Linked DNA regions of Homo sapiens: region 1 is linked to region 2. Evidence: promoter capture Hi-C in human tissues and cell types (Jung and others, 2019). All regions are on one chromosome and are shown on one strand. Each heading gives the region's core, a stretch centred on a gene start or on the middle of the fragment in contact. The rest is flanking DNA. Distances are from core to core; before and after follow the strand shown.

Region 1 (6,745 bases), core at 740-3,239, 52 kb after region 2:
GACGAGGAGGATCAATTTCTATGCTTATCCAAAAACAACAACAACAACAGCAACAACAAAAACTGTCTATGAGAAAACGGGGTCAGTTTCAATAGTTCAAAGAAGTAACTTGTAAAATTATTAGCACTTTCATTAGTCATTTGTATTAGTTTGCTCGTGCTGCCATAACAAACTACCAGACTGGATGACTTAACGGAAATGTATTTTTGATAGTTCTGAGAAATGCTTGGATCTGGAAGTCCAAGATCAAGATGCTGGCAGATCGATTGCACCTAAGGTCTCTCTCCTTGGCTTGCAGATGGCCACCTTCTTGCTGTATCCTCACATGGCCTTTTCTCTATGTGTGCATCCTTGGTGTCTCTTCCTCCAAATACATATCAGGAGTTGGGGCTTCAACATATGAATTTGTTGCCAGGGGAGGGGTACACAATTTAGTCCATAATAGCACTTAGTAAATATTGGCTGAATATAAATCTAAATAGTGAAGCTTCAACAATGAGCTGAGAAGAAGCCGTCTTCTCTCTATGGGAATTATTACGTTAGATCCTGTAGGTAAAAGAATGACTTAGGCTATGCCCCAGAAAACCTGGATGGAGGGTCTGCCCTCACTATGCTGAGACTCATATACAGAGGGTTCAGTAATGTAGAAAGGACTATACAAATGGAAAATGTTATTGTTGTTATTGATATAGCTGCATTATTTCCTTTTCTACCATGACTGGTTTTTGTGGTTGTTATTTTGGTCCCAATTAAGATCTCTCCCCTAACTCAAGCATGCCTTTACGGATGTTGTGTATGGAATAGTTCATCACTGGTTGTGATTATTTATGTTTTGTGTATTTTTAAAGTTTTGTATGCCTAGAGGCTGGGGAGCACAGAGGATTAAGAGTTCAATCTCTAAAGCTGGAGTGCTTAGATTTTAATCTCGCCTCCACAATTATATTGTCCTTGGTAGAAATCAATCAGGTATTCTCACATCACATTATGGTTGTTGCAGAAATTAAAGCCCACCAGGAACACAACCATGGTCCAAATGTTTAGTTGTATTTAGATGGCTGCACTGAAGGGCAGACCAAGCCAGGGGAGCCGTGGGATGTCAGGACAAGCAGGAGTTAGAGAAGGATTCTTGTGGGACTGTGCTTCTTGTGAGTGCTTCTAGGAGGTCTTAAGGAGTGGGACAGGGACAGGTTTTGAACTGGGTACTGTAAAGAGAAATAATTCAGTGATTGGGTATCTAGGTAATTTTTATTAAAGCAAGGTGAGGGCTGTAACTGATCAAGAAGCAGCAGTCACTTGCGTCCATTGTAAGAGGAAGGTGTTTTGTGGCTCTAGAAAGTATCCTTGTCTTTATCTTCTGTAATTATGGTCACACAGTGAACTTATCTGATCATCATTTATATTTTGTGAGTCTTGTTTATTTCAACTGGATCATTACAGCCTAGCTGCTTTCAGGGCTGCTTTCTTATCGTCATCTTGAAATATCATTTATTCTCATCACTACAGAACATTATCATAGTTATTAAATAAGTGGCTATTTAATATATGAGTAAAGAAGTACATATATTACCATACCAAAAATATTTTATGCTAGGTGTTGTCTAGCTTGAAATAGAAAACATTTTATGATATACACTTACCTATATAATATCTTAACAAGTGTATTTCAGTGCATTTTAAAACATAATTGTGAAAAAAGATCCATAGGCTTCATTCAACTGTTCAAAGTGTCCATAGAATCATAGAATCCAAAAATTTCAGACTATCTGAGAGTCTAACCTTCTCATTTTATAGATGAGAAAACTGAGGTTTAGGGAAGAAAAATGACTTGCATAAGATTATATTACAAGTTAGTGGCAAAGCAGAAGTCAGGATCCAGTTCTCTTTCCTAGAAGGCAGCAAAGAAGGAAAATAATAAAAAGCAAAGAAGGAAAATAATAAAAAGGATATGCACTTTGGAAATTGACAGATGAGTATTTATTGGATAATAATACTGTCTTAGCTTGGGCCCTTTCAAAAATCAAACATGTGACAAATATTCCTTTTAACATTTTACTGTGGGTTCCAATCCCAGGGCCGTAAGAGTGAGGAGGAAAAAAAAGTGAGAGAGGCATAGAAGGAGAGCAAATACAAGGGGGTGAATTAATGAGCAGACCACAAAAGGACACAGCCAGTCATTCAATCACAGAGGATGCACAGCAGCAGCAAAGAGTTAAGGTCACAATCCCAAGTCCATGGTGTGGAACACACTATCTTCACACGCCCAGGGTAGGGCAACCTTGATGAGTTGGCAAGAACACATTCGTGGATTAACAAAAGATAAGTTAATGGTTATGGCAGCATGATTCTCCAGGGAGAGAAATTTGAAACTGAGGAAATGTGAAAAGGTACATAAATTGGACCTAATGTGAATATCTATCTCATGCCATTGTTGTGAGGAGTAGAAATAAAGCACCAAACCCAAAAGAAAATCCCATTACTGGCAGCTATCTCTACAGTCTTTCCAATAGTCTTTCCACTGTACCACAGAGTACGCTGGCCTTTTCTCCAGAAACTGAGACTATTTTACCATCTTTTACTCAGAAGTGATTCTCAGACTTGCCTGCACACCTGGGTAATTTTTTAAAATACTGATATCTGGGTCCCACCCCAGTGATTCTGGCTCATTTAGTTTGGGGTATACCCTGGACATCCACTGATCTCAAAGGAAGGTTGGCATGATGATTACAAATGCTTAAATGCCAAACTGAAAACCTGTGGTCTCTTTAATTGGTCTTGATTTTATTCTCGGTTCAACTCCTTGGACCCATTTTGCTTGCAAATTCCACTATGACTGTACCTTGTGCATGGCCTGGGCCAAAGGTGCCCTGATTTTCTTCTCATTCCCTTATCCAAATCTATATTTATGTTCATAGACAGTAAGAATGGGTCAAGAAGACTCAAGGAAGATGCTTCTGCTTCTACCAACTTCATGGCAGGCAATACACTCAAGGTATTTCCATCCGTATGTGTGAATGACACCCTTGCGAACTGTGGCCCTCTTCTAGGCATTGCCCTAGAAATAAATCTAAACCCTAGGAATAAATCTAAACTAAAAATAAAATTATAGGAACGATTGCTAATTGAAGATCACTCAGGAGTGAAAATGAAAAATATCTAAAATTATCAATAAAATATAGAATTAAATGAACCTAGAGTCACAGGATCTCAGCCGCTGGGGAGAGGGGTGAATCACTTGGATGGATCCCTCTCCACCTTGCATGAGTTCTCTTTTACAACATCCACGCAGATATATGACCAGAAGCATTTGATTTGCATAAATTAGTTTAACCCTCAGCTTTTCAAAAACATATCTATTGGGTAAAGTGTGGGCAACCTGAGGGCATCATGAAGTTTGCCAGGTGACAGTGATGTGAACTACAGCAAAGCTGCCTGTTGTAATGACAAACAGTCAAGGAGGCATGGCTATTCTACACACAGATACAGAAGGAGATTGTTATTCAGGAGGTGTGTAAAGAGCTACCTTATTGCTATTCCAAAGGCACTTTCTCATTTGAAGAAGTTGAGAAAATCAATATGCTGTAGTGACTGAAGCATTCAAAGGCTCAAGACACAATAGGGAGTGAGTCCTCCGCCCCAAAGCCACAGATCAAAATCAAAGCCCTGGCCCTGCTTGTAAGAGCGGAGGCTTGGAAAATCCACACAGCAAGAGCTTGGCCATGTTCCCCAGAGACACAGAAGGTTGTGGTTATTTCAAGGAATGAAAGAGAGCATCAGAAAGTTTAAAAATAGGCATTTGAACTTTAGAATAGCTATCTTAAGTCAGTGGAAGCTTTTGAGAAGTCCATAATTTGACAGTGTATTTGGATGTGCGTGCACAGCCATGCATCTGTGAACTCCTGCTATTAAGGCCTACTCTATCCAAGATCAGCAATACATAATTTTTCTTTACTCTTAACAGAAATATCATTCAAACTAGACATGGAAATATAAGAAAAGAGATGTGCTGACATCACACGGTTCCTTAAAAAAATTCACTTGCTTAGTTTGCTATTTGAACATAAGAAAGTATATCCAGAATTTGTTACCCTTCATTTTTGTCATAAAATTATTTATGGAGTACCTGCAATTCTCAAGTGACTATGTTAAGGGCTGTGATTGAAACACATCTTCGCAACTTTAATATTCCATTCAATTCAAACCAGGAATACAGCTTTGTGCTGGGCACCTGGGTGACCAACTGTCCCAGTTTGCCTGGAACTGTCCTGGCATTGGTATTGAACATCTGTATCCCATGAAATTCCTCAGTCTTAGGCAAACTGGGACAGTTGGTGACCCTACTGGACACTGAAGAAGTTACCAAAGAGGAAAATTTCCAGAATTTATGGAGCGCTGGGGAAATTTAATTGGAGAAAAGGAAATTCATATATTAAACTGTCAGATACTGACAGTTTATATTCAAGAAAGGGTATGATTCATGTAAGCCTAGTCCATGTTTAACATGGAGTAATATTAAAAATAAGTGCTATGCAAGTGCTTATGGAAATAAGTGCTTCAAAGGAAAGAAATGTAAGTTTGTGTTAATGTTTGTGGGATTTTTCAAGTGTTGAGTCAAATATTTATTGTGAGACAAGCATGGTGCTGAGCAGGGTGTATAATGTCAAACAGGGCGTAACTAGCCTAGACTTTTAGTTTCTAGCCCCACACCACTAATTGTCCCACAGTCATGAGCAAATCACTTAATGTCTTTGCATCTTTGCTTTTATATCTATAAAATGGGCATTACAGTATCAACTGCCTTGTATACCCTCTAGGGATGTTGGGAGAATCAAATGAGATGAGAAGTATATAGAAAAGCATTTTGAAAACTACAGAATGCAGTACAAATATAAGGGCATAGGTGACATTGTTATTATTGCTGATGGACAAAAAATAAATCCACAATGTGACTTCAGTGATCTAGAACTGTATTGGCCAATAATGACTATTTAAATCTAAATTAATTGAAGTTGAATAAAAATTTTAAAAGTTAGTTTCTCACTTACCCTAACCTAAATATAGTCATTCAAGAGCTCAATGACTATATGTGGCTAGTAGGTTCTGCGGTGGACAATGCAAAGAATATTTCCATTACCACAGAAAGTTTCACTGGGCAGTGCTGGTCTAGATATAAGTGATTGACATTTTATATCTTGAATATGGTGACAATATGTCTTTGAAGTGGGAGTATTTCTAGATAAAAGCAGAAAAGTCATTAGGACTCTAAGCTGTCTAACCTTAACTCAAATTGTGGTGGTCATTACTGGTGCTCACCACATATGCTAATTCTCTTTCTCTCCTGGGCACCTGTTAACATTGCACTTCTTAAAGCTCTTCTGGTTGATTGGGAACACATGGCCAATTCTGGACAATGAGCTCTGAGCACAAGTGATGTATATCACCTGCATGTTGAGCACTTAATCATTGCTGGGAATCCCTCCAAAGCTTCATTCTTCTGTCATTACTGGAAGCATCCCAGATACAGGCTGTTGGTCAGCCTGAGTTCTGCAGGGAGAACTACACAGAAGCACAGTTTAGTTCCCAACTGACCCTTGATGGACATGTAGAAGGAGCAAGAATTAACTTTTGTTGGTGGAAGCTATAGAAATTTAGGGGCTATCAGTTATTTTGGCATAGGCTAGCCAATCCTTACTCATACATTAATCTTGAGGTAAGAACAAAAAAAGACATAATTAGCTAGGTCTCTAATCCTAGTTATTCTCTAGCTGTGGCCATTCATCAGACACACACACCCATACAGACCCACATGTACATGTAATAAAAACAGAACAGAACAAAAAGGATATAGCACAGCCCCACCTCCCAACGAATGCAATCAAGCTGCTCTGCCTCACTTCCTTGCCAAAAGGAGATTCAAAGCCATGTGTAATTCATTTATCACCACCCAATTTTAGAATACAGTACAACATTCTCATTTTCTTCTGGGAGGCCCTGAATAGTACAATTTCATGAGGACTAGAGTTGTTGTAACCGGAACCTGGATATTCCAGAAAGAGGTTCATACACTTCTTTCCAAAATGTACCTCTGGTCGTGGTCTCTCCAACTGTGAAATGGAGGAAGCAAGGAGAGCGCGAGCCATCTCATACATTGATGGAAGGTTTTTCCTTCCTGAAAGGAAGCACAGGATGTGGTGAGTTAATGACAGAAGGTACTTCATTTTTGAAGAATGAAAGGAGATATGTTGGTACAAATTACCCATGTTCTGCTGCCTAATCACAAAGCAAAGATTCTATTTTAAAAACCCAGGCAGCAATTTCACTTTTGAAACACGTTGAATATTATACTAAAGGGGTGCCATTGGGAAAACTTTGGGAAGAAACTGCAGAAATCTTCTCTTTGTGTATGAATACATGGAAGAGTCCCCATGGATGAGTATACAATACTGTGCCTGATGCTTTTACTACTATTCATCCACAATGCTTCACCCAGTGTCCACCCACTGCTCCCTCCTCACTTCCTCCTGCCACCCAATCCTGTAAAACAGAGCCTGTTTGTATTATTATTTGCTATTATAACAATGAAGTATTCACATGGAAAAATGAAAGAAATAAATACATGTGAAGTGCCTACTTTGAGTGCTACATGCTAGGCCTCTTCCCTTCACATTAGCTTTTGAATCTTCCTAAAAACCCCAAGAAGTAGCTCCCGTTATCTCCATTTTTCACACAAGGAAACCAAGGTTTAGAG
Region 2 (5,835 bases), core at 1,323-3,822:
ACTACTTACAATGAAGGTCCTAAAATGAACCTTTAATTTGCAGTTATCTGACAGATTTCAGCATAATGCTAAGAAGTGATGACAAGTGAGTCCCATTTGTGTAGGATGAGCAGTGTTTGAAGCACAACAATTAGCTCCAGAAGAATCACTTCAAAACAAGCACCTTGCAAAGTAGCTCAGAAAGCATCTTTTATTTCTGTCCTGAGTTTACAGGACCCCAGGGCATTAGGAAGAGTATAACTTTATTTCATACATAAATAGAATCTATTTACCACAAAAATAAGACATTCAAAGATTGTTCTAGAATATTTCGATTTGATCAAAAACATAATAATTTTTTTTCAGCCTATCTTTAGTGAAAACCATCTGTAAGAGTCAGTGCTGACTTTGGTTTCTTTATTTGTTACATAGACTGCTTTGCAAGACAACTTGCATCTAAAACAAAAGAGGTACTGTATTGTATACTTGAAATTTACTAAGAGGGCAGATCTTAATGTTTTCACACACACACACACACACACACACAAAGGTAACTATGTGAGGTGATGTATGTGTTAACTAGCTTGAATGTGATGATCATTTCACAATGTATATCAAAACATAATGTATGCATTAAATGTATGCAATTTTTATTTGTCAATTATAACCCAATAAAGCTGAAAAAATATAGAAAAAAGATGAGACAAAAAGTAGTAAACTGAAATAAAACAAAAGGGGGTGGTATAGAGAAAGTTTACTCATCTTTCAACTTTGACAGTAGTTATAAATGGTCCCCCAAACCTCATTATCTCAGAAAAGTCGCCACTGAAAGTTGGAGGCTTTGTTCTATACAACTTGTAAGTTGCATGATGCATTTTTAACACCGGCCTACATTGCCCCAAGATCTGAGTCCTTGTCTAGTCACTTTTGAGATGCTTACCGTGGTGGGAACTTCCTTGGTAGCTTCCTGGTACACACGCTGTTCCTTGACCAAGTTCCTGGGGAAATAACCCACGACTCCCATCTCGTCCTGGCCATCACCATAAACCTAAGTGCCCAGAAGAATAGCAATCAGGAAAAAGCTGATGCTGAGTGTCTTCTGAGAAACTCGCAGGCGTCCTCTTTGCTGATAGTGAGAATCATAGCTGCCAATACCTCCCTTTCACTCCGGGGTCCAGGGGGCGCTGCGGCAAATCCGAAGTTTACTTGGAGCACTAAGTTAACCCGCAGGAATTGTGCATCTACTGTTTAGTGGCCCAGTCTTATTTCGCTACTTTAGCATGACTTTATTTTACGCAATCTTGTGAGTTGCCTGAAATCTTTTTTGAACCCATAAATAAATATATAAAGACAGTACATTTTTTTAAAGTACTGTAGACACTTATTTTAAATGATGCAAATTTCTCAGTTTTCAACAATTCAAATGAACAGACTTAAATGGCTTTAAATTTAATCCTTCATTAATTTAGAACTTACCTTTAGGGTTGCAGATGAGGACAGAAAATCATCCCTGCTTCATCCCTCCCCAGGGACCGCCCCTGTATATTTTAACTGAAGAACGCTGATTCTTTCGAATTAATTAGGGTGCAAAGTTTCCTAAAAGAATATTGATACTTAGACTCACTGCCAACACACATGCCTTCTACTTGGCAAATCTTCTCAGACGTTTTCGGATAAGATTCAAATTCTTTGGGATGTTTAAGCCCCCATGTATTTGACTCTTTTTTTACCAAAATATCACATTAACCTACATTTGGTTTTGTTACGAAATTGATCTTTCTTTCTTTAAAATGCAATAGCAAATATACCTGAATTTTTGCATTTCCATCTACAATCACTACATGGTTCTTAACAACTAGTATTAAGCATTAAAATAGGTTGAAGGTAGGTAATCAAGGAAAGGTTAAGAGCAATATTCGTCAATAGGTGTTTAAATTATCTTACACTGCCAGCCCAAAATTCTCCAGCTCCATTTTCTTTTACCAGCTTTGAGTACACATAGATCTGCTGCCCTTTTTTAACGTTAATGAATCTACAGTCCGGGGCATTATAATCTTCTTGAGCACTAGCCAGAGAAATAGTATCTGGAAGAAAAAAAATTTAAATGATTACATTTTAGGCTCCTGAATTTTATAACAGTAAAAGGCAATGTATATTAGAAAAACTAGAAAATCAGAGTGACTGATAATTCCCAGTTCATAGCTGGTGTCTATCCAAGAGAAAGAAGACAGCCAAGATATTAAAGCTGCAACAAAACTCAGCCAAGTGAATTCTCCGTAGTAAGATACCAAACATGCAGACCAGAAGAAACAAAGCTGATAACATACACATTGGAGAAGATTCACTTCAAAGTATAATTCGATTTTATGCTATTAGTGGATATATTTTCAATTATGTAATAGAAAGATAATGAAAAGCATAAAAAAGTCCTTACAGACACACTCATCATCTGCACAGAGCTTCTTGGAAGCTAGACGGTCCATAAATATTCCATGCACAGCACATACAGCCACAAGACCCGGGAGGAAAAGTAACAATATTCTTGCCATCTTCCTTTTTTCTGTTTTAACTTGAACTCTGACTGGAAGCGGGGACTGACTTCAGTGGTTCCTGCCTTTTATGTGAAAGCCAGAGCTCTGGGTAAATACCCTGGCCAATTAGAAGGGCCTACCACCCCTCCGTTTTCATAACAGGCTGCTCGGCTTCAGGGGCTATTTAGCGTCTGATTTTCCAAACAGAGTCAAACTCTGTGTCTTTCTATACACAGATAATATCCAAAATGGTCCACTATTGTTAAAGCCGCTTTAGCAGTGGTCTATTGTATCAATCAGTAGGGCTTTGCTGAGAGGACTATGAGAATTTCAAACCATTTTTAGTTTTAATTCACCCCTAATTTTCCTTCAGCTTATGAGCAAAGACATACTAGTTGTAGGAATTTGTTGAAAATGTGAGATCTATAGCACAAATAATTTGATTTAAACAAATTCAATTAATAAATCTGGATTTACGTAATAGATAAATGAAAGATTCTTATGCTTACAAATCTTTCATGATAGGATTCTTAGAAGGCATGCCTGTCCCAGGCTAGAGATGAATTCTAACATACTAATTGATGCCCCATTTAGACCCTACCAGTGGGGAAAGAGATGGGTGGGTTGGGAAAAATAGGTCAATCTTTCCCCTACCTCTTCTCTCTAAGACTTTTGCAATTCAGTCTCAAATGCTCAAGGGTGACAGGTCAAAGAGAAGAGAGTGAAGTTACAAGTTTATGTTACCTGGAACTTCCTGCTTCTGAGCATGTTTCCCATGGGGAGAGGAGCACTCCTAGAGGCACCAAAGTGGAACCGCCAGTCCCTAGCTCCGTCTATTCAGCAAATATTTACTGAGCACTTACTGTGCCAGGTATAGTTCTGGGCACTAAAGATATAGCAGTAAATTTAAAAAAAATATTTTGGCCCCAAGTGTTGCTTTCTATTAGAAGAGACAGACAGTAAGTTACTGCTTTTTATAGGGTGTTTGAGGCTGGCATCTCTCCCATAAGGTGGCCCTTCCCCTGTTCTTATCCATTGCTTCTAGAATAGAGATCCTCTCAGGATGCCTTCTCCACCTTGGTTGATGATGTGACTTCGGAGCAGTGCCTTCTCCCCCAACCCCAAAGTCGTAACCTCATAAAATGAGGGACAAGAATTTAACTTACTAAATAATTTTGTGCAATACAATTTCCCAAGGGATAAATGGGTAAGGCAAAATATAATAAAAAGGTTTTTTGTTTTGGGTATATGTGTGTGTGTGATAGAGTTGTATTGGTTTGAGTGCATCTGTGTGTGTATGTAAAAGAGTTTTGGTGTGGGTATGGGTGTGGGTATGTGTGGCTGTGTGTGAGTGTGTGTGTGTGGCTGTGTGTGTATGTGTGTGTGACTTTCAAGGGAGGATCTTTTATATAGCTGGTCCTGATTGGAAAGTCTGTTTTATTCATACCTTCATTATAGACAAGGAAACTGAGGCACAGCAAATGCCAGAGTGGTCTTTTTGTTTTTTGTTGCTTTTTTTTTTTTTTTTTTTTTCCGAGATGGAGTATTGCTCTGTCACCCAGGATGGAGTGCACTGGTGCAATCTCGGCTCACTGCACCCTCTGTCTCCAGGGTTCAAGCAATTCTGCTGCCTCAGCCTCCCAAGTAGCTGGGCTGGCAGGTGTGCACCACCATGCCCAGCTAATTTTTGTATTTTTAGTAGAGACGGGGTTTCACCATATTGGCCAGCCTGGTCTCAAACTCCTGACCTCAAGTGATCCGCCCTCCTCAGCCTCCCAGAATGCTGGGATTACAGGCATGAGCCACCGCACCTGTCCTAAAGTGGTCATTTTGAACCATCCTATCTAAAGGTTACCAGAGGGATCATGGTTCAATGCTATTTCAATTCATTGTTGTCAACTTGGAATTGACAAATTAGAATAAATCATTTATTTCCTGTTTCACATCAAGGAAAGATTGAATTCGATATTATTTTTGAAAGCAGAATGCCTTTCCAATTTTTCCCCTGTAATCAATCTAAAGGTCTAAATTTCTGGGAAAACTAAAGCATTGATTAAATCTTCTTAATCCTGATTGCGCAGCTGTTTTATGGACTGTTCCAGTCTCAAACCAGCCCTCAGCATAGGAGAGTTAAAAGACAATTGTCATTTAAGAGGCACTTGAAGAAATGGGGACTGCAAAAACTCCCCATTGGGGAGCATATACAGATCCCCAAAAGCAGGATAAAATGATTAAAAACAAAAAGCAAAATGTGACATTCAAGCTATCACAACTTAGAAAATCAGGCTAATGCTAACGTGAAGCCATTATTGGACATTTGAAGGTGAAGAAATAAAGTAATGAGATAACCAAGCCTTCTGAGTGCAGCCTGGGAAAGCTTGTGGTGTTCTGGCATTCTAAAGTGGCAGACACAGGACAGAAGCTAGAGGCTTCTTGGTAAAATTGCATGCAAATAGGAATTTGAACTTGCAATAATTCAGCAAGTAGCTGTGTCTGGCAGTTATGCCAAAGACACTGGGGCCACTGGGGGTTCAGTGAGGGTTCTGGCCCCAGTTTTCATACTCGTTCCTCTAGATTTTCAGACGTATTCTCCAAACATTCAATCCCTAAATGACATTTTTCCCCTTCAGTTCCTAAATTAGATTCTCTGTCTGGAGTTCTTAAATGGAGGCCATGGCTCCTTTAGGATCTAAGCATGGGCTCGGTCAAGTGCAGGCAGCCTCCTTGTCATGGCCTACAAGCTCCTGTAGGATCAGGCCCTTCTACCTCTGGGATTTCACCTTTTGCTCTCTCCTCCACTCGCTCTGTTCCTCCCATACCAGTTCTCTCTAACTTTTGAAAACACTAAACTCATTTCTGCTTCAGGTGCTCCGAACTTACCACCTAGGATGCTTTTCCCCAGATACTGGCATTCAGGTTCCTGGCCAAGATGCCTCCACAGACAGAACAATTTAAAAGAGCCACTTCAAACCTTCCTCCACCCAATCCCTGTATCACGTGGCTGCAGTACACTGTCCTAAGGCATGTATCATAGCTGACATGCCTGCTTTATTTACTTAGTTTGTCTTCCAACCAACAGTATAATGAAAGCTCCACAAGGCAGGCATCTTTGCTATCTTGTTCCTCACTCTGTCATTAGCACCCGGAAAGATACTTGGTGTGCATTAAATAGGTATTCACTGAATGAATGCACAATTGCTCCGAAATTGTACGCATAGGGGTGTGTGTGTGTGTGTGTGTGTGTGTGTGTGTGTATGCATGCATTTTTCCCCTGGGCAAAGTCCCTGGCTTTAAAAACAGATTGATAACACCTCTAAGAGTCATT

What was found. The method cuts DNA at HindIII sites, captures the fragments that hold promoters and counts their contacts. A contact is called where the count stands out against the background at its distance.
Region 1: a fragment that was not itself captured here is called in contact with the fragment with the promoter of OTOR in region 2 in 1 of the 25 tissues and cell types used here (H1 embryonic stem cells).

The regions. Positions count from the first base shown.
Region 1 is chr20:16,691,345-16,698,089 of GRCh38, reverse strand. No RefSeq gene overlaps it. Among named protein-coding and RNA genes, the nearest start is that of SNRPB2, 35 kb to the left of the region's middle. The HindIII fragment of the contact is 5,333 bases long and covers 1-4,655 here.
Region 2 is chr20:16,745,095-16,750,929 of GRCh38, reverse strand. OTOR (otoraplin) reads right to left here and starts at 2,572. Exons shown (of 4, transcript NM_020157.4): 1 at 2,414-2,572; 2 at 1,924-2,063; 3 at 920-1,027. The coding sequence starts at 2,528. The HindIII fragment of the contact is 9,309 bases long and covers 1-5,835 here.